Linked DNA regions of Homo sapiens: regions 1, 3, 4, 5, 6 and 7 are each linked to region 2. The links are contacts of gene promoters, found by promoter capture Hi-C in blood cells and fetal thymus (Javierre and others, 2016). All regions are on one chromosome and are shown on one strand. The core of a region is centred on a gene start or on the middle of the fragment in contact, and the rest is flanking DNA. Distances in the headings are between cores, read along the strand shown.

The links. The method cuts DNA at HindIII sites, captures the fragments that hold promoters and counts their contacts. A CHiCAGO score of 5 or more calls a contact.
Region 1: a contact is called between the fragment with the promoter of SLC25A6 here and the fragment with the promoter of CD99 in region 2, in 4 of 17 cell types (naive B cells, naive CD8 T cells, total CD8 T cells and 1 more). The highest score is 6.3, in naive B cells.
Region 3: a contact is called between a fragment that was not itself captured here and the fragment with the promoter of CD99 in region 2, in 1 of 17 cell types (total CD4 T cells). The highest score is 5.9, in total CD4 T cells.
Region 4: a contact is called between a fragment that was not itself captured here and the fragment with the promoter of CD99 in region 2, in 8 of 17 cell types (non-activated CD4 T cells, naive CD8 T cells, activated CD4 T cells and 5 more). The highest score is 11.8, in non-activated CD4 T cells.
Region 5: the fragment with the promoter of ASMTL here is called in contact with the fragment with the promoter of CD99 in region 2 in 1 of 17 cell types (non-activated CD4 T cells); the score reaches 5.4 in non-activated CD4 T cells.
Region 6: a fragment that was not itself captured here is called in contact with the fragment with the promoter of CD99 in region 2 in 4 of 17 cell types (fetal thymus, activated CD4 T cells, non-activated CD4 T cells and 1 more); the score reaches 15.6 in fetal thymus.
Region 7: a fragment that was not itself captured here is called in contact with the fragment with the promoter of CD99 in region 2 in 2 of 17 cell types (total B cells and activated CD4 T cells); the score reaches 5.1 in total B cells.

The regions. Positions count from the first base shown.
Region 1 is chrX:1,390,832-1,393,531 of GRCh38, reverse strand. It overlaps SLC25A6 (solute carrier family 25 member 6), which reads left to right and starts at 1,419. Exons shown (of 4, transcript NM_001636.4): 1 at 1,419-1,633. The coding sequence starts at 1,523. LOC124900597 (serine/arginine repetitive matrix protein 1-like) reads right to left here and starts at 1,524. Exons shown (of 5, transcript XM_011546186.2): 1 at 1,301-1,524; 2 at 769-1,190. The coding sequence starts at 1,524. RefSeq lists enhancers at 919-1,521, 965-1,559, 1,560-2,155. The HindIII fragment of the contact is 29,130 bases long and covers 1-2,700 here.
Region 2 is chrX:2,689,890-2,692,589 of GRCh38, reverse strand. CD99 (CD99 molecule (Xg blood group)) reads right to left here and starts at 1,295. Exons shown (of 10, transcript NM_002414.5): 1 at 1,163-1,295. The coding sequence starts at 1,229. The HindIII fragment of the contact is 9,076 bases long and covers 1-2,700 here.
Region 3 is chrX:993,254-995,953 of GRCh38, reverse strand. No RefSeq gene overlaps it. Among named protein-coding and RNA genes, the nearest start is that of CRLF2, 220 kb to the left of the region's middle. The HindIII fragment of the contact is 232 bases long and covers 1,334-1,565 here.
Region 4 is chrX:1,251,979-1,254,678 of GRCh38, reverse strand. No RefSeq gene overlaps it. Among named protein-coding and RNA genes, the nearest start is that of CSF2RA, 15 kb to the left of the region's middle. The HindIII fragment of the contact is 8,598 bases long and covers 1-2,700 here.
Region 5 is chrX:1,451,478-1,454,177 of GRCh38, reverse strand. It overlaps ASMTL (acetylserotonin O-methyltransferase like), which reads left to right and starts at 1,269. Exons shown (of 13, transcript NM_004192.4): 1 at 1,269-1,430. The coding sequence starts at 1,338. The HindIII fragment of the contact is 27,509 bases long and covers 1-2,700 here.
Region 6 is chrX:1,469,340-1,472,039 of GRCh38, reverse strand. All of the region lies in intron 1 of P2RY8 (P2Y receptor family member 8), which reads left to right. Among named protein-coding and RNA genes, the nearest start is that of ASMTL, 18 kb to the right of the region's middle. The HindIII fragment of the contact is 1,532 bases long and covers 544-2,075 here.
Region 7 is chrX:1,214,615-1,217,314 of GRCh38, reverse strand. No RefSeq gene overlaps it. Among named protein-coding and RNA genes, the nearest start is that of CRLF2, 3.3 kb to the right of the region's middle. The HindIII fragment of the contact is 2,301 bases long and covers 249-2,549 here.

The DNA.
Region 1 (2,700 bases), core at 170-2,669, 1.3 Mb after region 2:
CAGGAGAATCGCTTGAACCCGGGAGGCGGAGCTTGCACTCCAGCTTGGGCAACAAGAGCGAAACTCTGTCTCAAAAGAAAAAAAAAACGGAAAAGAGAGAGGGGAGAAAGGGACGAGAGGAAGGGAGACAGGAAATAAAGAGGAAAAGGAAAAGAGAGGGAAGGAGGGAAAGGCAGAAAAGGGAGGAAGGGAAGGAAAGAGGAAAAGGGAAGGAGAGACGGAAAGAGGGAGAAAAAAGAGGGAGGGAGCAAAGAAAAAACAGAGGAAGGGCGGAGGGAGAAAAGCAGAAAAAGGAAGGAAAAAAATGAAAAAGAGGGAAGAAACGTAGCAAGAAAGGAAGGAGAAAGGGAGAGAGAAATGAAAGAAAAAGGGAGGGAGGGAAACGAAGGCAGAGACGGAAAGACGGAGAAAAAGGAGGGAGGCGGGAAAGCAGCAAAAAGCAAAGGCAAGCAGGGAAGGAAGAGACGGGGAGAAAAGGGCGGGCGGGAGAGAGCCGGGAAGGGAGAGGAGGCGGGAGGAGGGAGGAGGGAGGCGGGAGGGAGGGAGGAGGGAGGCGGGAGGGAGGGAGGGAGGGAGGGAGGAAGGGCGGAGTGGGAGGTCGCGAAGGAGGACCCCGGCCGCAGCCCCCGCCGGGCAGACACGGGCACAGACACGGGGAAATAGGGGAGCCCGGGCGGGTGGGCGCGGCCCACGGAACCCCCAGCCCCGGCGCGGAGGGCACCGCGGGGTCAAAGAACGGAGGCCCAGAGAGATCCCCCCCCCACCAACCTAGGCCGGGCGCGGAGGGCGGCGCGGAGTCACGGATCGGCAGCGGGACTGAGCCGCGCCCACGTGGAAGCCGCCGCAGGCTTCGCGCGGGGCCCCCCGGGTGCACGCGGGCAGGGGCCGGGGTCTCCCGACGCACGACCCCGGAGAGTGTTGAAAGGGTCGGAGCTGCCCGGAGGTCAAGGGTCAAGGGTCGGGGGTCGGGGCACCACATGTCGCACATCCCGGCGGGGTCGCCGCGGCCTCCGGGAGAAAGCGGACGACGCACTCGGAGCGAACTGGGCATCAGGGTGGGCTTCTGACTCCGCAGCTGCCCTCCCGCCCGCTCGGGTACTGGCAGCGGCCTGACCTTCACAAGGTCAAGGCTGCCGCGGAACCCCCAGCGGCCCCTACGGCGCATGGGCGGGGCCTGGCTCCCGGCATACCTAGGGGTGCGGGGCGGGACGTCTCCGGGGAGCGCAGCCAATGGGCGCGGTTCGCTGGAGTGCGGGGCGGGACGCAGCGGGATTCCCGGCAGCCCTCAGAGGCGAGGCACGCAGGCTGGTGTGGGGCGGGGCCTGGCGGCGCAGCCAATGAGCGCGGCGCGAGGAGGCGCGGGGGCGGAGAGTGGGCGTGGCGTCGGCGTCTTAGCGGCTGCGCGGTGGCTGCTCCGTCCTTTCGGTCCAGGCGGCGGCAGGGCTGAGCCAGCGACGCCCTCCATTCACTCTCCGCGCCCGTTCTCCGGCTGTCCTCCCGTTCCGCTGCCCGCCCTGCCACCATGACGGAACAGGCCATCTCCTTCGCCAAAGACTTCTTGGCCGGAGGCATCGCCGCCGCCATCTCCAAGACGGCCGTGGCTCCGATCGAGCGGGTCAAGCTGCTGCTGCAGGTGGGGACGCGGGCGCGGCCGCTCCGGGGACTAGGGGACGGGAACCGAGTGGCCGGGTCGGGCGGGGACGTGGGCAGCAGAGCCTTGCAGGCGGGCGCCGGAAGTGGAAGGCCGCGATCGCTTTGTCCACGCGCCGCCGGCTTCCGGGGGCCGCGTCACGTGACCGCTGCTGCAGGGCGTGGCGACGTCCACGCGTGCGCACTGGGCCCGGCGGGCGGGGGGAAATGCGGCACGGATTGGAGGGCGCATGCGCGCTGAGCAGGGCCCATGGACGGACCCTGCGGCTGGCGGGCCTTGACCTTGAGCTCAATCCTGCGGGTCCCCCGGCTGGGACCAACCCTTCCGGTGGATGCCTGGCAGGTGTCTGCTCTTGCTCCCTCCACCGTGAAGGGTAATTCTAAGGCCAATAGGGCAACGAGCCTGCCCGCAGGTGTCCTGGAATAACCAGGATATGGTTATTGGTGGTTCTTACCCCCTTCTTAGCTCATTTGTGCAATTCTGATCCAGAGCAATGCATTTTTTGTCTTTTGGGAGAGGCTTATAGAAAGTAGCATGATGCCTAGGAACATTGCCGCCAGGACGTCCTTGCTAACGTTGTACTCCGAGTGACAGCTCGGTGATGGGAATGAATAGGCTTGGCTGCAAGGACAGGTCACGCCCGCGATCCCAGCGCTTTTGAGAGGCCCGGGGAGTATTGCTTGAGGCCAGGAGTTTGAGAGCAGCCGGGGCCACACAGCAAGACCTCACCTCAAAAAAAATTATTTTAACTTAACGAAGCAGGACGTCCCAGTGCATTGAGAGGCCCGGAGAGGATCGCGTGAGCTCAGGAGTTTGAGACCAGCCTGGGCAACAGAGCAAGACCGCATCTCTAAGATAATTTTTTAAACCTAGTACAGGGTGGCGTGTCCCGGGAGTTTGAGACCAGCCAGGACAACATAGCAAGACCCCATCTCTAAGAAAATTTTTAAAACTTAGCAGGCGGGGTGTCCCCGCACTTTGAGAGGCCCAGGGAGGATCGCCTGAGCTCAGGAGTTTGAGACCAGCCAGGGCAACATAGCAAGACCCCG
Region 2 (2,700 bases), core at 46-2,545:
CTACGGAGCAGGCTTCATTATCTCTAATCTCTACCAAGTGAAAGCACAATTTCTAGGATACCCGGGACCCCTTTAAAGAGGGTGTAAATCCATTAGCAACTCCTCCCTAAAAATAGAGACCCGGCCTAGTCACCGCAGCTCTAGGCTGAGCTAGATCCTATCAACACAAATCGGGCCTCCTCCGTCCTCCCCAGGGCCGGGCGTTCCCGCGTCTCCTTCCTAAATACGTCCAGCCCTGATAAGGCCCGTCCTGAAGTCCACACTGCCCGCAAGCCGGTCTACTTAAAAGCCTGCCCATACGAAGAGCAAAAAATGCACTGACCATTGAAAAAAGAATTTATAACATGAAAAAAGAATTTATAACATACCACATCCGGCAGGGTCTCCGTTTCCGTTTCAAAGGGAGGGAAACAGAAAAACATGATTAAAGTAATAATTAGAAATAGGCCCGGTTTAGGGCGTGGGAGGGTGACCGTGGCTCTTTCTTCCCTGCCCACTTTTTCTGTTTTCCGAATTCTCCACCGCCGCAGATGGACAATTTGGTAAGCACACGTTTCTTTCTGCGCCCCGTGTTGCTTGGCGCACAGCACGCGCTGAAATTCCCGGAGCCCGCATCCACAGAGTATTTTTGAACATTTTCAGGGCTCAAAGTTTTTTTCTAACTTTTCCTTCCCTTCCCCCCACCACCCGGGTCTCAGGCTCCTAGCGATTCCAAATTTAGGCCCGGGACGCAGGGCGTGGCTGTGACAGGCAACTCCAGGGCGGCCTCCGCGCGCGGCCTGAAGACGCAGGTCCCCAAACCCTGGGGGTAGATAACGGGGTGGGGTGAGGGGCTCATGCAAAGGGAGAGAGATCTGTAAGAAGGTCCCCTAGATTGGGAAAAATCGGACGCACCTCTCCCAAGGCCGCCCCACATGTAAGAGTTTGCAACTCCGACAACAAACGCTGACTTTTCTCTCTGGAACGGCTCCAGGAAAAGCGTTGGGGAGAAAGTGGGCGCCTCCTCCGGGCCTGGGCCCCCGTGGGCACAGCGCGTCCTGCCGGGCAGGGAGGAGGCTCCGGGTGTCCCCGCGGGGCGCCCCCAACGCCGCATCTCAAGCGGATCCCCAGTCCCGGCCCGCGCCCTCCGCGTCCCCCAACCCGGATCCCTCCGCTCGCTCACCCGGGGCGGCGACCAGAACACCCAGCAGGCCGAAGAGCAGCAGCGCCAGCGCAGCCCCGCGGGCCATGGTGCGCCCAGAGCGCGCAGGGACGGTCCCGGAGTGCAGGGCGTGGGCGAAGGCGGCAGGACAGATACTCCCCCACGGGCCGGGTGGGGCGAAGCCCGGGGACTCGAAGGGGGCGGGTGAGGGGAGCGGCCCTGCAAGCTCAGCGCCGGCTGCGCCCGCCCCGCCCCGGCCTCCACGCGCGCACAGAAGGGGCGGGAACGCCGGGCCCGGGGAGGAGACAGAGGGGGTAGGCGGGCGGGGGTGGCCCAGGCAGCGCCGAGGGGAGTACGGTACACGCCCCGCCCCTTCTCAGGAAACTGCCCACGCCCCCTCACCCACCCACAGGGCCGTAGCCAGGGCGGCGCCGACCCGAAGCAAAGTGAACTACAACGTTCTCGGGAAAGTGCGGGTCCCTCCCGGTTTACAGCCCTCTGAATGCACGCCCGAGGGCGGCCCTTAACTGTAGTGGCACAAAACTGCCGCCCTTCTTGGAAACATAGAGCCCCCTCTCCCCACTCGCCCCTGCAGCCACTTCTCCGCCCCTCACCCCCTGGTCTCCAGTGGGAGCAAAAAAACAAACTTTCCCAGCAGCTCCCCTGCTCGGGAAAGTGCGGGTCCCTCCCTGTCTACAGCCTCCTAAATGCACGCCTGCAACTGTAGCGACACGAAACTGCCGCCCTTCTTGGAAACGTGTAGCCCCCCTCCCCACTCGCCCCTGCAGCCCCTTCTCCGCCCCTAGCAGGGACCCTCCCCTGCTCTGCAGTGGGAGCAGAGGAAACTCCCGGCTCCCCTGCTGGGAAAAGTATGGGGGCCCCTCCCCGCTGCTCACCTCAGGGAGTTCCCCAAGGGGAGCAAAGTGCAATCCTCTCCCTGCTCAGGAAGCCTAGGCCCCCGCTCCACAGGCAACCCCCGTCCCAAGTCCTTTCTAGAGCGTCCGAGCGCGGGGTGCGCAGCCGGGAGGGTGGCGGACGAACCCTTTGCGCCGGACCAAGGACAACCCTTGGAGTAGCCTCTGCGCTGGGGCAGTTTCTCCCCAGAATCCCCAGGACAAGGTTGGGAGTGGGGACTCCTGGTCACGGGAGTTAGTGAGGGGCAATAGGGAACGAGGTGCCTTCTATCTGGGGCACCTGGGCCCTAGTCCTGGTCATGGGCGACTCGCCTTCCAGTGGGCTTTGAGTTTAGACACCCTCCCGCGCCACTGGCCACAGCTGCAGTGCAGTTGTCGCCCTTCCCACACTTAACAATGTTATCTGTTAACACCTAAGCCTAAAATTGTATCCATTTTCCCGCAGGGTAGTGGAACAACTTTGCAGCCTGACAAATAACCCTGAATATTCTTGCATTCCACACTTCAAACTGTCCACGAAAAGAGTCAAACTAGGCCGGGCGCGGTGGCTCACGCCTGGAATCCCAGCGCTTTGGGAGACCGAGGCGGGTGGATCACCTGAGGTCAGGAATTGGAGACCAGCCTGACCAACAAGGTGAAACCCTG
Region 3 (2,700 bases), core at 200-2,699, 1.7 Mb after region 2:
AGCTGTGACCCAACCACCTTGAACACCTGTCGTCAGGACCTCCTGAGGCCGTCTCATGGGTGTGTCTTTAACGTTGGCAAAATAAACCTGCTAAATTGATTGACACCTGTCTCAGATATTTTGGGTTCATGATAGATAGATAGATAGATAGATACATACATACATACATACATACATACATAGATACATAGATGGATGATACATGACATGACTCGAGAGATGATAGATGATATAGGTGGATATATAGATGATAGATTAGTGATAGTGGATAGATAGATAATAGATACGTAGATAGACACATAGATGGATAGATAGATATACATAGATGAATGGATAGATAGATGATAGGTTGGTATATAGATAGATAGATGAAATGGATAGACCGATTATACATAAATAGACAAATAAATAAGATGAATGGGTAGATAAAGAGATGTGATGGATGGATAGATGATAGATAGATAGATAGATAGATAGATAGATAGATAGATAGATAGGGCCAGGCACGGTGGCTCACGCCTGTAATCCCAGCACTTTGGGAGGCCGAGGCGGGCGGATCACGAGGTCAGGAGATCGAGACCACGGTGAAACCCCATCTCTACTAAAAATACAAAAAATTAGCCGGGCATGGTGGCGGGCGCCTGTAGTCCCAGCTACTCGGGAGGCTGAGGCAGGAGAATGGCGTGAACCTGGGAGGCGGAGCTTGCAGTGAGCCGAGATTGCGCCATTGCACTCCAGCCTGGGCGACAGAGTGACACTCTGTCTCAAAAAAAAAAAAAAAAAGATAGATAGATAGATACATAGATAGATAGATAAAGATGGATGGGTAGTTGATAGATGATGAGATGGGTAGATAAACAGATGGTAGATGACAGATTGACAGGTGATAGTACATAGATGGACACACGATAGATTGATAATAGATAAGGTAGATAGATGATGGATATATAGATAGCTTGATTGATAGATGATAGTTAATAGGTAAGTAGATAGATGATACATGGATAGGAAGACAGATGAGATGGATGACTAGATAGATAGATACATAGATGGATAGATGGCAGGATGAATGGATGGATGGATGGATAGATGAGATGGATGAATAGATAGGTAGGTAGATAGATGAGACGAATGGATAGATGATTGAAAGACAGATAGATGTTAGACAGATAGATAGATGATAGGCAGGTAGGTAGGTAGGCATTTAAAGTTAAATTGCATTCCAGAACCTCTCTCAGTAGACCTAGAGAATGCCAAAACCCAATCCCATGTTGTCAGATAGTTTACAGTATGAATATTCAAAGAGTTTGAGACCCAGGATGGCCGTGAAGCTTTCAGAGAATCTCCAAATTTGCAGACGATAACGCTGTTGAAATACAGAAGAGAAGCCGTCCATGTTGAATGTAGTAACTCCAACTCTCCCTTTAGAAGAATCCCAGAGTTTCTTGCGTCTCAACGCTTTTTTGTAATGTTATTTCATTACACAGAATACAGAAACCATAAAAAGTGCACGTAAACATTCAATTAGACTTGATGTGTCTCTGTTGAAATCCATCAGATAAGCTTAAACCATGATTAAGATCCTTTCTTTTCTTTTTTTTTTTTGGACATGTTTCCTGCTAAACAGTCTTTCTGCACTTATTAGCGTTTTGTTGACGGTGTGTCCCGTGCACAGTTAATTTCATTTGTCTCCATGCCGTTTCAATCTTCCCTTGATAACGAAGATAGATTTATAAACCCCACTTACCATTGTGTTTTCCTTTTGCCGAAAGCGATGTGAACAAATCAGAAACACAACGGAGTTTTGGGAAATAAGAGAAAGAGACAGAAAAGAAGGAAAGGAACAGAAATACAGCCGATGTCCCACGGACGACGTGTTGACTAGAGTTCTCTCGGAGAGCTGTGCCTGGGTTCACACTGGGTGTGCCTGTTTGCTGCGCACGTGTGTGATGAGATGTGTGGACAAGGACTGAGAAATACAAAAGACATGGGTTAAAATCAGACTCATGGAGGCCGGGCGCGGCGGCTCACGCCTGTAATCCCACCACTTTGAGAGGTTGAGGTGGGAGCATCACTTACCCCAGAAGTTCGAGACCAGACTGGGCAACATAGCAAGACTCTGTGTATATAACTCTGTTCTCAGGCTGCTAATAAAGACATACCTGAGACTGGGTTATTGATTGATTGATTGATTGATTGAGATGGAGTTTTGCTCTTGTCACCCAGGCTGGAGTGCAATGGTGCCATCTCGGCTCACTGCAACCTCCGCCTCCCGGGTTCAAGCGATTCTCCTGCCTCAGCCTCCCGAGTAGCTGGGATTACAGGCACGTGCCAGCACGCCCTGCTAGTTTTGTATTTTTAGTACAGACAGGGTTTCTCCACGTTGGGCAGGCTGGTCTTGAACTCCCGACCTCAGGTGATCCTCCTGCCTCGGCCTCTCAAAGTGCTGGGATGACAGGCATGAGTCACCGCGCCCAGCCCGAGACTGGGTAAAAGATAAAGGAAAGAGGTTTAACGGACTCACAGTTCCACATGGCTGAGGAGACCTCGCAATCATGGCGGAAGGCAAAGGAGGAGCAAAGTCATGTCTTCCATGGTGGCAAGCAAGAGAAAAGGGGAAAGTCCCCTTTATAAAACCATCTGATCTCATGAGACGTCTTCACTATTGTGTGAACAGCAAGGGAAAGACCTGCCCTGTGA
Region 4 (2,700 bases), core at 118-2,617, 1.4 Mb after region 2:
TTGGGAGGCTGAGGCAGGAAAATGGCATGAACCCGGGAGGTGGAGGTTGCAGTGAGCCGAGATTGCGCCACTGCACTGCAGCCTGGTGACAGAGTGAGACTGTCTCAAAAAAAGAAAAAAGCCAGGCGCAGTGGCTCACGCCTGTAATCCCAGCACTTTGGGAGGCCGAGGTGGGCGGATCACGAGGTCAGGAGATTGAGACCATCCTGGCTAACATGGTGAAACCCCGTCTGTACCAAAAATACAAAAAAAAAATTAGCCAGACGCTGTGGCAGGCGCCTGTAGTCCCAGCTACTCAGTAGGCTGAGGCAGGAGAATCGCTTGAACCTGGGAGGCGGAGGTTGCAGTGAGCCAAGATCGCGCCACTGCACTCCAGCCTGGGCAACAGAGTGAGACTCCGTCTCAAAAAAATAAAAAAGACCCTGGCTTCTCTCTCGCTTCCTTTCTCACCATGTAATTCCTTCTACCCCTTTGCCTTGCACCATGACTGGAAACCCTCCGCCTCCAGTTCTCAGTTCTCCACTTTCCTCGTATGTCACCTTCAGATGACATTGAGCATTTGTTTATTTATACTTCCCTGCCTTTCCAGAAACAATGGTCCTGTGAATCTTTAACCTCCAGTACTAAGGCCAGAACGTGGCCCTGAGGAATGTGTTCAAAGGACTGAGCTCTGAGATTCATCCCAGCACCTGTAAGCGGCTTCCTGTAGGTGCCTGTCCTGGTCTGTGAACCTGGGGATGGTGATATCTTTTGCTTGATGGACACATGGCCCAGAGAATGTCACTGCTTTTACAGACATAGCCTTGTCTGTGCCATCTGCTTGTTCCTTGCTGGGAAGCCCCAGTTCTTTGCCTTCTGCCATGACTGGAAACCCTCCGCCTCCAGTTCTCCGTTCTCTGCTTCCCTCATACGTCACCTTCAGATGATATTGAGCATTTGTTTATTTATACTTCCCTGCCTTTCCAGAAACAATGGTCCCGTGAATCTTTAACCTCCAGTACTAAGGCCAGAACGTGGCCTGGAGGGATGTGTTCAAAGGACCGAGCTCTGAGATTCATCCCAGCACCTGTAAGCGGCTTCCTGTAGGTGCCTGTCCTGGTCTGTGAACATGGGGATGGTGATATCTTTTGCTTGATGGACACATGGCCCAGAGAATGTCACTGCTTTTACAGACATGGCCTTGTCTGTGCCATCTGCTTGTTCCTTGCTGGGAAGCCCCAGTTCTTTGCCTTCTGCCATGACTGGAAACCCTCCGCCTCCAGTTCTCAGTTCTCCGCTTCCCTCGTACGTCACCTTCAGATGACATTGAGCATTTGTTTATTTATACTTCCCTGCCTTTCCAGAAACAATGGTCCCGTGAATCTTTAACCTCCAGTACTAACGCCAGAACGTGGCCCGGAGGGATGTGTTCAAAGGACCGAGCTCTGAGATACATCCCAGCACCTGTAAGCGGCTTCCTGTAGGTGCCTGTCCTGGTCTGTGAACCTGGGGATGGTGATATCTTTTGCTTGATGGACACATGGCCCAGAGAATGTCACTGTTTGAACAGACATAGCCTTGTCTGTGCCATCTCCTTGTTCCTTGCTGGGAAGCCCCAGTTCTCTCTTTAGAATGAGGGATGTGGGCCAGGCAGGGACTTTCTGACCTGAGTTTCCTCTTAGCTGAAAACTGTGGTTCCTGGTCTCCTTCACCTCCCTTTTCTCAGGGGCAGGGATGGGTACCAGGAGGGGGGGTGGTATGAGGTAAAGCTCAGAGACAGACTTTAGATGGTGGGTTGGGCGAGGTGGCTCACACCTATAATCCCAGCACTTTGGGAGGCCGAACAGGGGCATTTAATAAATCTACACATGGGCCGTGCGCAGTGGCTCACACCTGTAATCCCAGCAGTCTGGGAGGCCGAGGCAGGCAGATCACTTGAGGTCAGGAGTTCGAGAGCAGCCTGGTCATCATGGTGAAACCCCATCTCTAACAAAAATACAAAAAAAATAGCTGGGTGTGGTGGCAGTTGGCTGTAATCCCAGCTACTCGGGAGGCTGAGGCAGGAGAATCGATTGAACCTGGGAGGTGGCCGTTGCAGTGAGCTGAGATCATGCCATTGCACTCCAGCCTGGGCAACAAGAGTGAAATTCTATCTCAAAAAATAAATAAAATAAAATAAAAATAATAAATTCACAAGTCGTGATTTTCCTGGAAAATGTTGATGCTGTTGGGAAGGAGAGAAGTCTGAGGACTCAGATAAGCCTGTTCTGCCTCTGAAGCAGCTCGGCGTTGTAATAAGTAAAGGCACCAGTGGGAAAAGTCTCAGGGTGTTGTCTGCTGAAGCAGACTCAATGAGTTTTCCTGTGTGGGGTGGTGGGAAGGTTGGCAGGTAGACCACAAGGCAAATTAAGATAAGCTGGTGACTCCGGCCTTTGGAACAAAGAAATGGAAAACTACAGCCCCAGGCCGGGAGTGGTGGCTCAAGCCTGTAATCCCAGCACTTTGTTTATCATTATTATTTTGAGAGGGAGTCTTCCTCTGTCACCAGGCCTGAGTGCAGGTGGCGCGACCTCTGCTCACTGCAATCTCTGCCTCCCGGGTTCACGCCATTCTCTTGCCTCAGCCTCCTGAGTAGCTGGGATTACTGGCGTGCATCACCATGCCTGGCCAATTTTTGTATTTTTAGTAGAGACGGGGTTTCACCATGTTGGCCAGGATGGT
Region 5 (2,700 bases), core at 20-2,519, 1.2 Mb after region 2:
ACGCCCCTCCCACAAGGACCCCCACCTTCTCCACGCCCCTCCCACCAGGCACGCGGGGACCCCCCCCCCACCCATCTCCCCGCCCTTCCCACCCGGCCCGCGGGGACCCCCATATCCATACCCCTCCGAGCATTCTCGCGGGGACCCTCATCTCCAAACCCCTCCCACCATCCCCGCGGGGATCCCCATCTCCACGCCCCTCCCACCAGGCCCGTGGACACCCCCATCTCCACGCCCCTCCCACCAGGCCCGTGGACACCCCCATCTCCACGCCCCTCCCACCAGGCCCGTGGACACCCCCATCTCCACGCCCCTCCCACCAGGCCCGTGGACACCCCCATCTCCACGCCCCTCCCACCAGGCCCGTGGACACCCCCATCTCCACGCCCCTCCCACCAGGCCCGTGGACACCCCCATCTCCACTCCCCTCCCACCAGGCACGAGGACATCCCCATCCCCACGCCACTCGCACCGGGTCCGCGGGGAACCCCCTATCTCTACCTTCCCCGACGCGGCTCCCACAAGACCCCCATCTCTGCGCCGGGCCCCTCCACGTGCGGGTAAGAACCCCCCACCCCCACAACTGCCCACAACCGCAGCTGCGGAAACCCAGCATTTCCACTCCCCACGCCGCGCCTGCAAGGAACCCCAAGTATCCACGCCAGCCTTTCCTCCCCGGGACCCCGCAGCTGCCTGCGCCATTGCAGGTCTTGGCGCCGCAGGCGGGGTGGGGAGGGGCGGGGCGAGCGCCGGGGGCGGGGACGGGGCCCGGGAGGCGGAGCTGGGGGCGGTGCTTCACCAAGCGGCCGGGGCGGTGCCCGGGGGGGAGGCGGGCGGGGGTGTGGCCTGGGCGTGGCCTCACGGGGAGCTCAATGGCGGCGTGGCATGGGCGTGGCCTGGCGGAGAGGGCAAGGAGGTGTGGCCTGGGCGTGGCCTGGCGGAGCGGTCAATGGCGGCGTGACATGGGCGTGGCCTGGCGGAGAGGGCAATGGAGGTGTGGCCTGGGCGTGGCCTGACGGAGAGGGCAATGGAGGCGTGGTCTGGGCGTGGTCTCAGGGGAGATCAATGGGGCGTGACATGGGCGTGGCCTGGTGGAGAGGGCAATGGAGGTGTGGCCTGGGCGAGGCCTGACGGAGTGTTCAATGGAGGCGTGGCCTGGGCGCGGTCTCGCGGGGAGGCCACTGAAGGCGCGGACTGGGCGTGGCCTCGCGGAGGCGGGCGGGGGCGTGGCCTCGCGGAGGCGGGACTCTGGCCGCCTGTTTTTTTTGCAGCCGCGCTGCGCGCACCGCGGGCTCCGGGCTCAGAAGTGCGGACGCCCGGCTCCCGGCGTGGACGCCATGGTGCTGTGCCCGGTGATTGGGAAGCTGCTGCACAAGCGCGTGGTGCTGGCCAGCGCCTCCCCACGCCGTCAGGAGATCCTCAGCAACGCGGTACGGCCTGGGCCTGGGCGGGGCAGGGGACCGGGGACGGAGGGGCTGAACCCCGGAGGGCCCAGCGACTCAGGAACTCTAGGGATAGGGATGGGAGAGTGACCCGAGACCCTTAGGGATGGGGGAGGGGAGAGTGTCCCGGGACCTCCAGGGATAGGGTTGGGGAGAGTGACCCGGAACCTCTAGGGATGGGGGAGGGGAGAGTAACCCGGAACCCCCTAGGCATGGGGGTGGGGAGTGACCTGGGTCCCCATAGGGATGGGGGAGGGGATCGTAACCCGGGACCCCTAGGAATGGGGAGGGTAGAGTGACCCAGGACCGCTAGGGATGGGGACAGCAGAGTGACCCCGGAGCCCCATGGATGGGGATGAGGAGAGTAACCCGGGACCCCCAGGCATGGGGATGGGGAGAGTAACCCGGGACCTCCAGGGTTGGGGATGGGGAGAGTAAGCCGAGACCCCCCCTAGGGATGGGGGTGGGGGAGTAACCCGGGACCCCTAGGGATGGGGGAGAGGAGAGTAACCCGGGACCCCCAGGCATGGGGATGGGGAGAGTAAGCCGAGACCCCCAGGAATGGGGTTGGGGAGAATAACCCGGGACCCCTAGGGATGGGGTTGGGGAGAGTGACCCAGGACCCCCTAGGGATGGGGGAGGGGAGAGTAACCCGGGACCCCCCTAGGGGTGGGGGAGGGGAGAGAAACCCGGGACACCTTAGGGATGGGGTTGGAGAGAGTAACCTGTAACCTGGGACCCCCTAGCGATGGGGGTGGGGAGAGTAACCCAGGACGCCCTAGGCATGTGGTTGGGGAGAGTGACCCGGGACCCCCTAGGGATGGGGAGGGAGGAGTGACCCAGGACCGCTAGGGATGGGGACAGCAGAGTGACCCCGGAGCCCCATGGATGGGGATGGGGAGAGTAACCCGGGACCCCCAGGCATGGGGATGGGGAGAGTAACCCGGGACCTCCAGGGTTGGGGATAGGGAGAGTAAGCCGAGACCCCCCTAGGGATGGGGGTGGGGAGAGTAACCCGGGACCCCTAGGGATGGGGGAGAGGAGAGTAACCCGGGACCCCTAGGAATGGGGAGGTCAAGTGACCCGGGACCCCCCTAGGGATGGGGGTGGGGAGAGTGACCCGAAACCCCTAGGCATGGGGTTGCAGGGAGTGACCCAGAACCCCCTAGGAATGGGGATGGGAGAGTAACCTGGGACCCCCTAGGGATGGGGGAGGGGAGAGTAAGCCGGGATCCCCCTAGGGATGGGGGTAGGGAGA
Region 6 (2,700 bases), core at 60-2,559, 1.2 Mb after region 2:
TGCTGTCTTTGGGGTTGAGGGCCTCCTGAGGCAGCCCTATCAAAAGAACCACAAACTGGGTGGTGCAAACACCCCCAGAAAACAGAAAGGAGAGCAGACGACAAGCACGGGGCTGGCTTGTGGTTCCTTAGGGCTGGGGCCTCTCACTCCCCTGTGTGTTCAACAGCTGGGACAGCCCCCAGCACTCAGGAAAGAGGGGTGGTTATAGCCAGAAGACAATAGCTGGCAAAAAAGGGTCTGTCACCGGCATGCAATCCCTGCTGCCCACGAGGAGATGCCTTTTGTCTATTTCTCATCCCAACCCTGTAAGGTCCACCCGGAACAAGACTGTAGTGATCACTGCACTCAGCATCTGAACCCTTTAGAAAGGGGTTCCCAGGGCTGGGAATGAGGGAAGAGCAGCTTTATGCACAATAGCCAAGAATCAGGAACACGCCAGGCGCGGTGGCTCACACCTGTCATCCCAGCACTTTGGGAGGCCGAGGCGGGCAGATCATGGGAGGTCAGGAGTTTGAGACCAGCCTGGCCAACATGATGAAAGCTTGTCGCTACTAAAATTATTAAAAAAAAAAAATGGGCTGGGTGTGATGGCTCGTGCCTGTAATCCCAGCACTTTGGGAGGCCGAGGAGGGTGGATCATACATCAGAGGTCAGGAGTTTGAGACCAGCCTGGCCAACATGATGAAACCCCGTCGTTACTAAAATTACAAAAAAAAAAAAAAAAAAAAAATGGGCTGGGCGCGGTGGCTCACGTCTGTAGTCCCAGCACTTTGGGAGACTGAGGAGGGTGGATCACCTGAGGTCAGCAGTTCACAACCAGCCTGGCCAACATGGTGAAACCCTGTCTCTACTAAAAATACAAAAATTAGCTGGGTGCGGTGATGCATGCCTGTAGTCCCAGCTACTCCAGAGGCTGAGGCAGGAAAATTGCTTGAACCGGGGAAGCGGAGGTTGCCGAGAGCCGAGATCACACCATTGCACTCCAGCCTGGGCAAAAAGAGCGAAACTCCCTCTCAAAAAAAAAATTACAAAAAAATTAGCCAGGCGTGGTGGCAGGTTCCTGTAGCCCCAGCTACTTGGGAGGCTGAGGCAGGAGAATTGCTTGAACCCAGGAGGCGGAGGTTGCACTGAGCCAAGATCGCACCACTACACTCCAGCCTGGGCAACAGAGCAAGACTCCATCTCAAAAAAAAAAAAAAAAATCAGAAAGAACAAAAATGTCCATCCACAGGAGAATGAATAAACAGAATGTGGTCTATCCACACAGTAGACTATTATGCACCCACTGAAAGGACTCAAGCTCTGACCCAGGCTGCAGCGTGGATGAACTTTGAAGACCCCTGGCTCAGTGACAGAAGCTAGACACAAAAGACCACATATTGTAGAATTTTATTCTTATAAAATATCTAGAATAGGCAGATCCACAGAGACAGGAAGCAGATTTGAGGTTCACAGGGGCTGGGGACAGGAACGAACAGGATTAGCAGTTGTGGGGTTCTGAAGGGTTTTTGTTTTGTTTTGAGATGGAGTTTTGCTTTTGTTGCCCAGGCTGGAGTGCAATGGTGTGATCTCGGCTCACTGCAACCTCTGCCCCCTACCCAGGTTCAAGCGATTCTCCTGCCTTAGCCTCTGGAGTAGCTGGGATTACAGGCATGTGCCACAACACCCGGTTAATTTTTTTTGTATTTTTAGTAGAGACAGGGTTTCACCATGTTGGGAAGGCTGGTCTTGAACTCCTGACCTCAGGTGATCCACCTGCCTCGGCCTCCCAAAGTGATGGGATTACAGACGTGAGTCACCGCGCCTGGCCCATTTGTTTTTGTTTGTTTGTTTGTTTAATTTTAGTAACAACAGGATTTCACCATGTTGGCCAGGCTGGTCTCGAACTCCTGACCTCAGGTGATCCACCTGCCTCGGCCTCCCAAAGTGCTGGAATTACAGGTGTGAGCCATGATGCCCGGCCAGGTCCTGAGTTTTGTTTAGGGATAAAAATGGTTCTGGAATTGCATTATGGTGTTGTTTGCACATCTGTGAATATATTAAAAACCATTGAACTGTATGAATGAGTGAAAGCTTATGGTACGTAACTCACGTCTTGGTAAAGCTGTTTTTTTGTTTGTTGGTTTTGTTTTGTTTTGAGACAGAGTCTCGCTCTGTTGCCCAGGCTGGATGGAGTACAGTGGTGCGATCTCGGCTCACTGCAAGCTCCGCCTCCCGGGTTCAGGCCATTCTCCTGCCTCAGCCTCCCGAGTAGCTGGGACTCGCCACCATGCCACCACGCCCGGCTAATTTTTTTGTTTTTTTGTTTTTTTAGTAGAGATGGGGTTTCACCGTGTTAGCCAGGATGGTCTTGATCTCCTGACCTCGTGATCTGCCCACCTCGGCCTTCCAAAGTGCTGGGATTACAGGTGTGAGCCACCGTGCCCGGCTGGCAAAGCTGTTTTAAGAAGAAATAAGTGAGAGGGCTGGAGGAGATACACACAGACCCTCAAGAGGAGAGAAACATTGCTGGATGCATTGCTGCCAGACAGGTGTGCATTTACCTGCAAAGCATAAGAAAAAGGGTCCAACCTGGCCAGGTGCAGTGGCTCACGACTGTCATCCCAGCACTTTAGGAGGCCGGGGCTGGTGGCTCACCTGAGGTCAGGAATTCAAGACCAGCCTGGTTAACATGGTGAAACTCTTTTTGGGGCTACAAAA
Region 7 (2,700 bases), core at 150-2,649, 1.5 Mb after region 2:
CCTCAGCCTCCCAAAGTGCTGGGATTACAGGCACCCGCCACCATGCCCAGCTAATTTTTGTATTTTCAGTAGAGACAGGGTTTCACTATGTTGTCCAGGCTGGTCTTGAACTCTTGGCCTCAGGTGATCCACCCGCCTCGTCCTCCCAAAGTATTGGGATTACAGGCATGAGCCACCGCGCCCGGCCACTTCCCCTTTTCCCAGCGCTCACCATGACCATGTCCAGAGCATACGTACTTATTTAAGCTTCGTCTCGTCCTACAGAACGCATTCTTCACGAGGGCAGGGAGTCCTGTCTGTTTGTAGGCCAACCTCCTTTCTCTCTCTCTGCAGACTTGCCTACTTTGCATGCGACAGTATCTACTGTCCAGTAGTAACAGTGGACGTTGATTGGGGGCTGAATTCAGAACAATGCTCAATGTTTTATGTATATTATCACTTTGTCTCTCTGAGCTAGGTGATATTATTGTCACCTCCCCAGTGCCTGGGAGATAACAGACCCTCAACAAATGTATCTTGAGTGAGTATTGAATGAAGCCATTTCTGTCATCTGTAGAAGCAGAAGTTGTGGAGGGTCCTGGGCAGAGATGCTTTTTTTTTTTTTTTTTTTTTTTTGAGACAGAGTCTTGCCCTGTCACCAGGCTGGAATGCAGTGGTGCCATCTCGGCTCACTGCAACCTCCGCCTCCCGGGTTCCAGCGATTCTCCTGCCTCACCCTCCCGAGCAGCTGGGATAACAGGTGCATGCCACCACGCCTGGCTAATTTTTCTATTTTTAGTGGAGACAGGGTTTCACCATGTTGGTCTCTAACTCCAGAAGTCAGATGATCCTCCCGCCTCAGCCTCCCAAAGTGCTGGGATTACAGGCACCTGCCACCACGCCTGGCTAATTTTTGTATTTTTAGTAGAGACGGAGTTTCTCCATGTTGGCCAGGCTGGTCTTGAACTCCTGACCTCAGGTGATCCTCCCGCCTCGGCCTCACAAAGTGCTGGGATGACAGGCATGAACCAATGAGCCCGGCAGGAGATGGTTCTTGAGGCTCACACTTCCTTCTTGTCCCCTACTCTCTACAGGGTTCCGTGAGACATGGTATTCTGGTCAACGTTGTCATCTAACCTTTCACACTGTGTCATTATTTGGATTATTTTATCTCTTCCATGACGAACCATGGAGCTCAGAGCTCTCAATAATGAAAGCATTGGGCGGGGCGCGGTGGCTCATGCCCATCATCCCAGCATTTTGGGAGGCTGAGGCTGGCGGATCACGAGGTCAGGAGATCGAGACCATCCTGGCTAATATGGTGAAACCCTGTCTCTACTGAAAATACAAAAATAAGCCGGGCGTGGTGGTGGGCACCCGTAGTCCCAGCTACTCGGGAGGCTGAGGCAGGAGAATGGCGTGAACCCTGAAGGTGGAGCTTGCAGTGAGCAGAGATCACACCACTGCACTCCAGCCTGGGCGACAGAGCAAGACTCCGTCTCAAAAAAACAAAAAACAAAAAAACAGAAAAACAAAAAAGGAGCCAGGTGTGGTGGCAGGTGCCTGTAATCCCAGCTACTCGGCAGGCTGAGGCAGGAGAACTGCTTGAACCAGAGAGGCAGAAGTTGCAGTGAGCTGAGATTGCACCATTGCACTCCAGCCTGGGCAGCAAGAGAAACTCCGTCTCAAAAAATAACCCCTCAAAAACAGAAAAACAAAAAATCAGCCAGGTGTGGTGGCAGGTGCCTGTTGCTTGAACCCAAGAGGCAGAAGTTGCAGTGAGCTGAGATTGCACCATTGCACTCCAGCCTGGGTGACAGAGGGAGACTCTCCACCTCAAAAAAACATAAAACAAATGTTAGTGGTCTCAAACTGGTCACTCACGGTTAATCCAATCTTCCTGCTGTCAAGCAAAAGAACACCTAAAATTCTTCCGTCACGTACTGGAGAAAGATCCTGCATTTGTGCTCTGAAAGTCCCCAAACCGCATCTCTAAACAGTTCCCACAATCACTTCTGCTTTGCTTGTACGAAGGAGTGGTGGCAACCAACAGGAATCACCTGCTCTGCCTGGCACACTTGTGTTTTGACCGCAAGGAATCTCCAGGCATGAGCCGAGATCTTTTAAGATGACATGTCTGTTCCAACCAGCTCTCTCCAGACTTTTATTTATTCACTTATTTATTTATTTATATATTTTGAGACGGAGTCTTGCTCTTGTCGCCCAGGCTGGAGTGCCGTGGCACGATCTCAGCTCACTGCCAACTCCGCCTCCCGGGTTCACGCCATTCTCCTGCCTCAGCTTCCTGAGTAGTTGGGATAACAGGCACCCACCACCACGCCCGGCTAATTTTTGTATTTTTAGCAGAGACGGGGTTTCACCGTGTTGGCCAGGCTGGTCTCGAACTCCTGACCTCAGGGGATCCTCCGGCCTCGGCCTCCCAGAGTGCTGGGATGACAGGCGTGAGCCACCGTGCCCGGTCCTCTACAGTCTTAAACTGGGGCCCCATCTACCCAGCATATGCTACCATCACAGTGTTTGTGGTGTTACGAGGAGAATGCCTACAAGCTTGAGTCCCTTGGTCTGGGAAGCTGGTCAGCGGCAAAGGTGAACTCTGCGTTTGTCTGAAGACAGATGAACTATGAAGTCTCTGGATGTCCAGCCCAGCTTGGGTGCAGAGTATATCACAGAACACTGACCACACAACTGCACACTCATCCA